Linked DNA regions of Homo sapiens: regions 2 and 3 are each linked to region 1. The links are contacts of gene promoters, found by promoter capture Hi-C in blood cells and fetal thymus (Javierre and others, 2016). All regions are on one chromosome and are shown on one strand. The core of a region is centred on a gene start or on the middle of the fragment in contact, and the rest is flanking DNA. Distances in the headings are between cores, read along the strand shown.

Evidence for each region. The method cuts DNA at HindIII sites, captures the fragments that hold promoters and counts their contacts. A CHiCAGO score of 5 or more calls a contact.
Region 2: a contact is called between a fragment that was not itself captured here and the fragment with the promoter of LINC03068 in region 1, in 1 of 17 cell types (neutrophils). The highest score is 7.0, in neutrophils.
Region 3: a contact is called between a fragment that was not itself captured here and the fragment with the promoter of LINC03068 in region 1, in 1 of 17 cell types (naive CD8 T cells). The highest score is 6.4, in naive CD8 T cells.

What each region holds. Positions count from the first base shown.
Region 1 is chr10:132,443,631-132,446,330 of GRCh38, forward strand. It overlaps LINC03068 (long intergenic non-protein coding RNA 3068), which reads right to left and starts at 1,352. Exons shown (of 3, transcript NR_184030.1): 1 at 1,142-1,352. It overlaps LINC02870 (long intergenic non-protein coding RNA 2870), which reads left to right and starts at 1,559. Exons shown (of 3, transcript NR_149317.1): 1 at 1,559-1,648; 2 at 2,066-2,149. RefSeq lists silencers at 99-148, 249-298. The HindIII fragment of the contact is 13,459 bases long and covers 1-2,700 here.
Region 2 is chr10:133,255,379-133,258,087 of GRCh38, forward strand. No RefSeq gene overlaps it. Among named protein-coding and RNA genes, the nearest start is that of MIR202HG, 8.8 kb to the left of the region's middle. RefSeq lists an enhancer at 2,660-2,709. The HindIII fragment of the contact is 887 bases long and covers 874-1,760 here.
Region 3 is chr10:133,387,450-133,390,149 of GRCh38, forward strand. PAOX (polyamine oxidase) reads left to right here. Exons shown (of 7, transcript NM_152911.4): 5 at 1,507-1,619; 6 at 2,141-2,298. Among named protein-coding and RNA genes, the nearest start is that of MTG1, 5.4 kb to the right of the region's middle. RefSeq lists silencers at 1,062-1,219, 1,476-1,770, 2,360-2,439 and an enhancer at 1,180-1,309. The HindIII fragment of the contact is 2,734 bases long and covers 1-2,700 here.

The DNA.
Region 1 (2,700 bases), core at 102-2,601:
AAATAAATAAATAAATAAAATAAAATAAAATAAAAAGTTGCAGTGTCAGCAATGAGTTAGCTCTTTAATGGGGGCTTTTTTAAATGAATATTTCTCAGCTGTTGGTGAGCTCAGCTGAGGGAGGGCGGGCGCCACGGGTCCCTGACTCAGACCTGACTGTGGGGCTGGGACACGACTGCCCCTAGTGGGAGCAAGGCCCAACGGTTGGGGGGTGCCCAGCGCCCAGCCAGCAGCTGGGGTGTCTGTGGGGGCTCCCCCATCGCCCTCCCCTCCCCCTTCCCTTCCTTCCCTCTCCTCTCAACCCCCACTCCCCTCACACCTTCCCCTCCCCCTCACTCCTCTCCCCTCTCCTCAGGGCTCCCTGGCTTCCTGCCTCACCCTTCCCCTCCCCCCACTCCCCTTCCTCAGGGCTCCCTCCCCTCACTCCCTCCCCACTCACTCCCTCTCCCCTTCCTCAGGGCTCCCCGCCTCACTCCCTCCCTGCTCACTCCCCTCCCCTTCCTCAGGGCTCCCCACCCCCCCACTCCTCCTCCCCTCTCCTCAGGGCTCCCCCCCTCACTCCCACTCACTCTCCTCCCCTCTCCTCAGGGCTCCCTCCCTCCTCACTCCCTCCCCGCTCACTCCCCTCCCCTTCCTCAGGGCTCCCTCCCCCCTCACTCCCTCCCCCGCTCGCTCACTCCCTCTCGCCTCTCCTCAGGGCTCCCCGGCTTCCTGCCTCTCTGAATTCCTCCTCCAGACCCTCAAGGCTCCCTGCTCATTCCCTCTGGGGTCCTGAGGTCTCCAAGGGCCACTCTGGCTTCCCCCCTGCAGACCCACCCTCCTAGGGGAACAGGGTGACCCCACACAGACACTGATGGGACAAGAGAACCAGCCCTGCAGAAAGCCTCCAGGTGAGGCTGACAGTGCTGGTCCTGTGACGGGGAAGCAGGTGAGAGCCATCTCTGGCCTCAAGGCTGATCAGCAGCCCCCAAGGTGTCCTCTGCAGAGAGGGCCAGCCTCAGGCCTGCCACCCCGTAGACCACAGGGACCTGTCCTGAGATTCCTCCATTTCTGAGCACCAGCCTAGGAAATGATGGAGGGTCTGGCCCCCAGGCCCAGACCCCCAGGCCCCCTGCCCCCGTCTAGGTCCCCAGGTACTTGCAGAAAAGAAGGGGTGAGCACAGCCTTCTGTAAGGGGGCGCCCGAGTCCTGGCCAAGGTGGCCGCCCACCCTGGGGCTCCAAGGTCCAGGCAGCCACCTCTTCGGTCTCTGCCCTTAATGTGGGGCAGAGTGGCAGGTCAGAGCCCCGGCCCTGGCCCCGGCCCCAGCCCCAGCTCCTCCTCAGCCACAGGGGCATCTCCAATTCCTGAAATAATTCAGTTCCCTCTCCTGGGCACCTCTAGAGCCCAGCTGGGCCCAGGGTGTGTTCTGCAGTTGTGGGGGTGGGGGGGAGGATTTTGCAACCCTACCCTCTCTGCAGGGTACCTCCGGTGGCTCTGGCCTCTGGGCCCCATGCTGTGCCAGACACACAGAGAGGCTCAGCCAGTTATTTCCAAGAGGCCAGGCAGGCAGGAGAGGCCCAGGATCTGCCAGGACTGGGAAGGGAGGCAGGAGGCTTCTCTGGGTATAAAGCAGCTGAAATGTGGAGTTTCCTCCCAGGAGCTGAGAGGTAGCTGCAGGGCGAGCCCTGGGGGAAGTGTGCAGCCGCTGGAGCTCCGTCCTGGGCAGGGGTGGTCACGGCTTGAGGATGGCAAGGGCTGATGCCTTGTTTGCTTTTAAAATTGTTGCTATTTGCTGTAGTTCCCCTGTTATTCCTAAACTCTCAGGAAGCACCTACTGGCCTCAAGGTAGTCTCGCTTATGGGGCTGGGGATGAAGAAGAGTGGGGTGTGCAGGTGGGCAGAGCTCCAGCGGCAGGAGGCTGAGGGCGGGCTGGGGAGTAGCAGCAGGGGATGGGCACGAGGCCCCTTCGGTCCTCCTGCAGCTGTTTTAATGTGGCGTTTTGGAAAGAGCCGCACCCCGTGGGTGCCTATGGGAAGGAGGCGTCTTAGTCACATGCCCCTAACGATTGCGGCGTTTCTCTACAGCGTGTCCATGGGCCCAGTGCCTGGCGTGTCCTCCCTGGGAGCTTGCTGGACGCATGACCAGGATTCTGGGAGGGCAGAGGACAGGTGGGTCCTGGTGGTAGGTCAGCTGCTGAGTTTCCCTATGACGTTTGTTCCGCTGGTGCCCAGAGCCCCTTCAAGGTGTCCATCATCAGGGGAGAAGTGGCGCCACAAACTGCCTTTTAACCCTGGGGTCCTGCCAAGAGGTCTGGGGTGTCCTGGGGCCTGTGGCCTGGGCTGCAAGTGCAGCCAGTTCCCTCAGGGCATGGCCACCAGCCCTGGGCTCCCGTGCCCGGGTTTCCCTGCCTGCCTGGCTGGTCAGAGGAGGGAGTCCCTCTATCCACTCTGCCCCACATTAAGGGGAGAGACTGAAGAGGTGGCTGCCTGGACTGTGGAGCCCCAGGGTGGGCGGCCACCTTGGCCAGGACTCGGGCGCCCCCTTACAGAAGGCTGTGCTCACCCCTTCTTTTCTGCAAGTACCTGGGGACCTAGACGGGGGCAGGGGATGCCCAAAAGGGCCTAGACACCTTCCATGGCAGCCGCCATCACAGGGTCTGTGGGAGGGCGTGTCCTCCCTTCCGCAGGCCTGGTGGGCAGCGAGGCCGTGCAGCTGCGAC
Region 2 (2,709 bases), core at 67-2,566, 810 kb after region 1:
CAGCCCCAGTTAGGCTGGCCTCAGTTGGGTCTCTGCGTGTTCCTCTGGGAGCCACAAAAAGGCAGGTGAACTCGGCTCCACACTCCGCACCCAGGTCCAGCTGCCGGCACCGCTTGGTGGCCACCCAGGGCGAGGGTGGGATTACCCAGGATGCACAGCCCCTCTGCCCCGCGGTCCCGCCGCCCACCCTCCTTGACACCCCGCCACCCCTGCTTGGGCAGCCACGGGGAGCTGTTGGAGGGTGGAGTTCAGCACAGAAGGAGACAAAGACCTCCAGGGACAGATGGGGTGGGGGCCACCCTGCCAGGGCACTCTGGCCTCTGGACACCCCCATCAACCCTCCCCGGTCACATGGCTCTGTTTTTCCTGGCGAGGGCGTCGCGTGGATGGTGGGTGAGGCCCACATGCTGGGGGTCAGCGGTGCACACGATTCAGCCACGTCCACAGCTTTTCTTTATTTCAGGGTCTCACTCTGTGGCCCAGGCTGGAGTACAGGGGTGCAATCTCGACTCACTGCAGCCTCCACCTCCCAGGCCCAAGCGATCCTCCCACCTCAGCCTCCCAAGTAGAGGGGACTACGGGCACCATGCCGGGCCAAGTTTTGTATTTTTTGTAGAGACGGGATTTGGCTGTGTTGCCCAGGCTGGTCGTGAACTCCTGAGCTCAGGTGATCCGCCCACCTCGGCCTCTCAAAGTGCTGGGTTTACAGGCATGAGCCACCGCACCTGGCCTTCAGTGGCTCTCTGAGGAAGTTATATATATTTGTTAAACATACGTGTCCTTCTCAGAATCTGTGAGAAGCGCAGATACAATTGTCAACAGATTCCAGAAACACGGGGAGCAGCAGAGCTTTGCCGCCGCCTCTCTCCAGCAAGCTTTGAACAGCCATTGTTTTCATTTATTCCTGCTTGTAAAACGACACATTGTTATGATGGAGAATTGTGAGTACTGCAGAAAAGAAATAAGTTTTGCCACCAAAGGCGATCACTGTGGATCATGCCGGTTCCTGCACACCTGTGGGGTGCTCTGAGCGTGGACTCCCCACGCGAGCCGTCCAGACGTGCTCAGGGTGGCCTCCCCTGCTTACTCCTTTGTGCTTTCATTGCTAATAATTTTAGTCAGTCGTGTCTGCTCTACTAATTTACTATTTGAAGTTATTTACAGCTTGATCTAAAGAAGCTGGCCAGGCGCAGTGGCTCACACCTGTAATCCCAGCACTGTGGGAAGCAGAGGCAGGAGGATCACTTGAGCCCAGGAGTTCAAGACCAGCCTGGGCAACACAGTGAGACCCCCATTGCTACAAAAAATGAAAAGAATTACGCAAGGCGCAGTGGCTGACGCCTGTAATCCCAACAGTTTGGGAGGTAGAGGCGGGCGGATCACCTGAGGTCAGGAGTTTGAGAGCAGCCTGGCCAATATGGTGAAACCCCGTCTCTACTAAAATACAAAAATTAGCCGGGCGTGGTGGCGGGCGCCTGTAATCTCAGCTACTTGGGAGGCTGAGGCAGGAGAATCGTTTCAACCCAGGAGGTGGAGGTTGCAGTGAGCTGAGATTGTGCCACTACACTCTAGTCTGGGCAACAGAGTGAGACCCCTGTCTCAAAAAAAAAAAAAAAAAAAAAGGAAAAGAAAAGAATTAGCTGGGCGTGGTGGCACGTGCCGGAGGCTGAGGTGGGAGAACGGCTCCAGCTGCAGTGAGCTGTTCTCCGGCCTGGGCAGCAGAGCCAGATCTGTCTCAAAAATAAAAAACAAAAAACAGAAGCTTTAAGAGATTTTTAAATTCATTTTTACTTTTTTTCTCCTTCATCTACCCAAGATTGTACTCCGTGAGGGGGTTTTTGAAGTAAATTTCATGACAGCACATTATTCAGCAGTGAGTTTCGGACCATATGTTCCCATTTTTACAACTTTTGTGCACCCTAGGGTGTTTTCCCCTAGGAAATTGTTGTTATATTTCACACATGCAAAAATAAACGCCAGGTGATGTGAGGGGCACCCACACCCACCTTCCCGCTGAGAAATGCAGGCCGCCCCCAAGGGGAGCCCTCATCCTGCAGGTTTCCTCCCGAGTCCTGGAATTCTAAAATGCGCTCCTTGCACCTGGGACTCTTCCTGCCAGCTCCACTGGGGAAAGCTCCTCTCCACCTCCCCTGCTCCCTCCGGGCCTCTCACGGCTCCCCCCGCCCCTCCTCTGCCCCAGGGCCTGTGCTCCTACATCCCGGCAAGCCGCAGCCCCGACACTTCCTCCTAATTTCCTGACACTCCCCACTCCCTGGCGGGACGTTTTACTCCTTGCTCTCCTTCCCACTGGAGGGCGCGCGCTTTCTAGCTGGCCGCGTGGGCAGGCAGAGGACCAGGTGCAGGCGGGCGCCAGAGGACAGAAGGTGGAAGTCAAGCGGTGTCTTGGCCGTCCAAGGTCCCAGCACAGGCACTCAGAACCCCTGAGCCCAGGGAGCTCCCAAGGGTCTCACTCTCCTCTGCGGTCTTTGCTGGCCGAGGGCAAGGCCGGGTGAGGACGGAGAGAAGCAGCTCCTCCCCACCACACACCCAGAGCTGGGAGGGGCCAGGATTCAGCACCCTCTAGGGGTGGGCACGGCAGACGCGGTGGGGACCTGGCGCTGAGGTCCTGGCTCCCACTCCAGCGTGGCCTGGTGGCTTCTCCCCGGTTGGGGTACCCTGCACAGGGGTTGTGGTGCCTCCCAAGGGCCA
Region 3 (2,700 bases), core at 102-2,601, 940 kb after region 1:
CAGTTTTTGCTTGAGAGCTTAAACTTTGTCATTGTCTATAAATACTATTTGTTAGTTGTTTTCCTGTGATAGAGACACTTTGCTCATTTTCAAGAAAATGTCACCAAATACCACACCATGATTTGTCTGACTGGTGCTCTCCTGAGTTCTGAGCCTGTCTGTGAAAGACGCACCAGCCCCGCCTGGAATAGCGTGTGCTAGGTGAGTCCTCCACGGCCACCGTGCACCACGCGCAGCAGGAGTGTTCTATGCGGATCCCGCTTCTCCACGCAGATTATTATTATTTTTTGAGATGGAGTCTTACTCTGTCGCCCAGGCTGGAGAGCAGTGGCGCGATCTTGGCTCACCGCAACCTCCACCTCCCGGGTTCATGCCATTCTCCTGCCTCAACCTGCCGAGTAGCTGGGACTACAGGTGCCCGCCACCACGCCTGGCTAATTTTTGTATTTTTATTAGACAGGGCTTTACCATATTGACCAGGCTGGTCTCGAACTCCTGACCTCGTGATCCGCCCGCCTTGGCCTCCCAAAGTGCTGGGATTACAGGCCTGAGCCACTGTGCCTGGCCCTCCACGCAGATTATTAAAAAGACATGAACTCGAGGATCAAGATTTAATAAAATTAGTAACTTTTACTGCCTTTGATCAAGGACATTCTCAAGTGAAAGCAGCATTTTTATTTATTTTTTAATATATATATTTTAATTTTTATATTCAGAGGCAGGGATATACGTGCAGGTTTGTTATGTAGCTAACCGTGTATCATGGGGGCTTGTTGTACAGATTAGTTCTATCACCCAGGAATTAAACCTAGTACCCATTAGTTATTTTTCCTGCTCCTCTCCCTCCTCCCATCCTCCACTCTCCCATAGGCCCCAGTGTGTGTTCTCATCATTTAGCTCCCACTTGAAAGGGAAAACATGTGCTGTCTGCTTTTCTGTTCCTGTGTTAGTTTGCTAAGGATAATGGCCTCCAGCTCCATCCATGTCCCTGCAAAGGACATGATCTCGTTCTTTGACGGCTGCAAAAAGCAGCATTTTGTAACCCTCATGTGCAGTGGTGGGAACGCCTGTAGGCGCATGTGGATCCTGTTGCTGCCTGATTCTGCTAAGGGACGGTTTACCTGCCCTGGCTCTTGCTCAGGTGCAAATGTCGGCGTGGTGGAAACAGCAAATGCTGTCTTAGCGTCTGAAGATGGCTGTGACCTTGAGGGTCCCTGGCAGGGCCTTCGGACCCCCAGGACTTTGCCGCCCACACTCTGCGAACTGCTGCCTGAGGGACGCTCTGTGGGGTGGCTCTTTGTGCCTCTGGGGCCCCTGCTCCATCAGTGGTTCCTTGCTGAGAAACGCGGGCGGAGAGCTGGGCTGGACACTGTCATCCCGGGGCTCTCTTTCTCCATGCAGGTCTGGTCATCCCAGGGCTCTCTTTCTCCATGCAGGTCTGGTCATCCCAGGGCTCTCTTTCTCCATGCAGGTCTGGTCATCCCAGGGCTCTCTTTCTCCATGCAGGTCTGTCCACGTTCTCTGTGGGTTCATTGCCGGACTTGAGTCTGAGTTCATGGAGACTCTGTCGGATGAAGAAGTACTTCTGTGTCTCACCCAAGTGCTCCGGAGAGTGACAGGTAGGTACTCACCACACACGCTGGTTCCTGCCTCTGCTCGTTACTGGTTGATCTCTAAACAGAAACTAGACTTTGCAGAACAGAGAAAAACTAAATTTGGCTGACTCTGTACATCTCCAGGGACCATCCTTCCTCATGTTAGTGGGGTCAGTAACAGTTCTTACCTCCGAGGAACTGAAATGACTTTGCAAACACTTCCTACTTCTGCCACCAAAATAAATGCCGTTGTCCTTGATCAGATTTTTACAGAGGAGGAACCCAAGGCTCGGAAACAGTAGCTGCTGCTGTCACAGCTCCCGGGTCCCGGCCCGCTGCTGTCGGGTCAGAGGCCCCCGGGTCCCAGCCCACTGCTCTCGGGTCAGAGGCGGCAGGAAGAGCCTCTCCTGACACACTCTGCTGCTCACTTTTCTTCCTGCATAGCATCTTTCACGTTAAACTGCTCAATCTTTAAAAATGACAAAAACAGTTGCAGACCTGTGGGTGAGAGTTCTCGGTTAACATGCAGTGTCTCTGTGGCTCAGGAAACCCACGGCTCCCCGCGCCCAAGAGCGTCCTGCGGTCTCGCTGGCACAGCGCCCCGTACACTAGGGGGTCCTACAGCTACGTGGCCGTGGGCAGTACTGGGGGCGACCTGGACCTGCTGGCTCAGCCCCTCCCTGCAGACGGCGCCGGCGCCCAGGTATGTGGCGTGCCCCAGTCGGGGGGCGTGGGTCCCGCTGCAGAGGCCCCCGCCGAGTCTGGGCGCTGCAGGAGCACCAGCCAGTGGCGGGTGGGCTGGGATCCCAGACTCGGAAGCCATTTTCTTTTTGAAACTAAGAATAATTTTTAAATGTACTGTTTTTGTGAGAATTATACACACACAGCTTAAAAAGTCAGAGAATTCTGCAGTGCTAACAAAAGAAAATAAAACCAAAATGGCAGGTGGAGCCCCTTTTGCCCTTCTCAGACGGTGCTCCCAGCTGATTCTCATCGCTAAGTTTACTGCATCTCTAAAAACATGTTTCTGCTACCACGTTTTGAGATACATTTCCTGTGCAAAATGTCAAACATACTAAAGTAGGGAGAACCTTTCAGTGCCCAC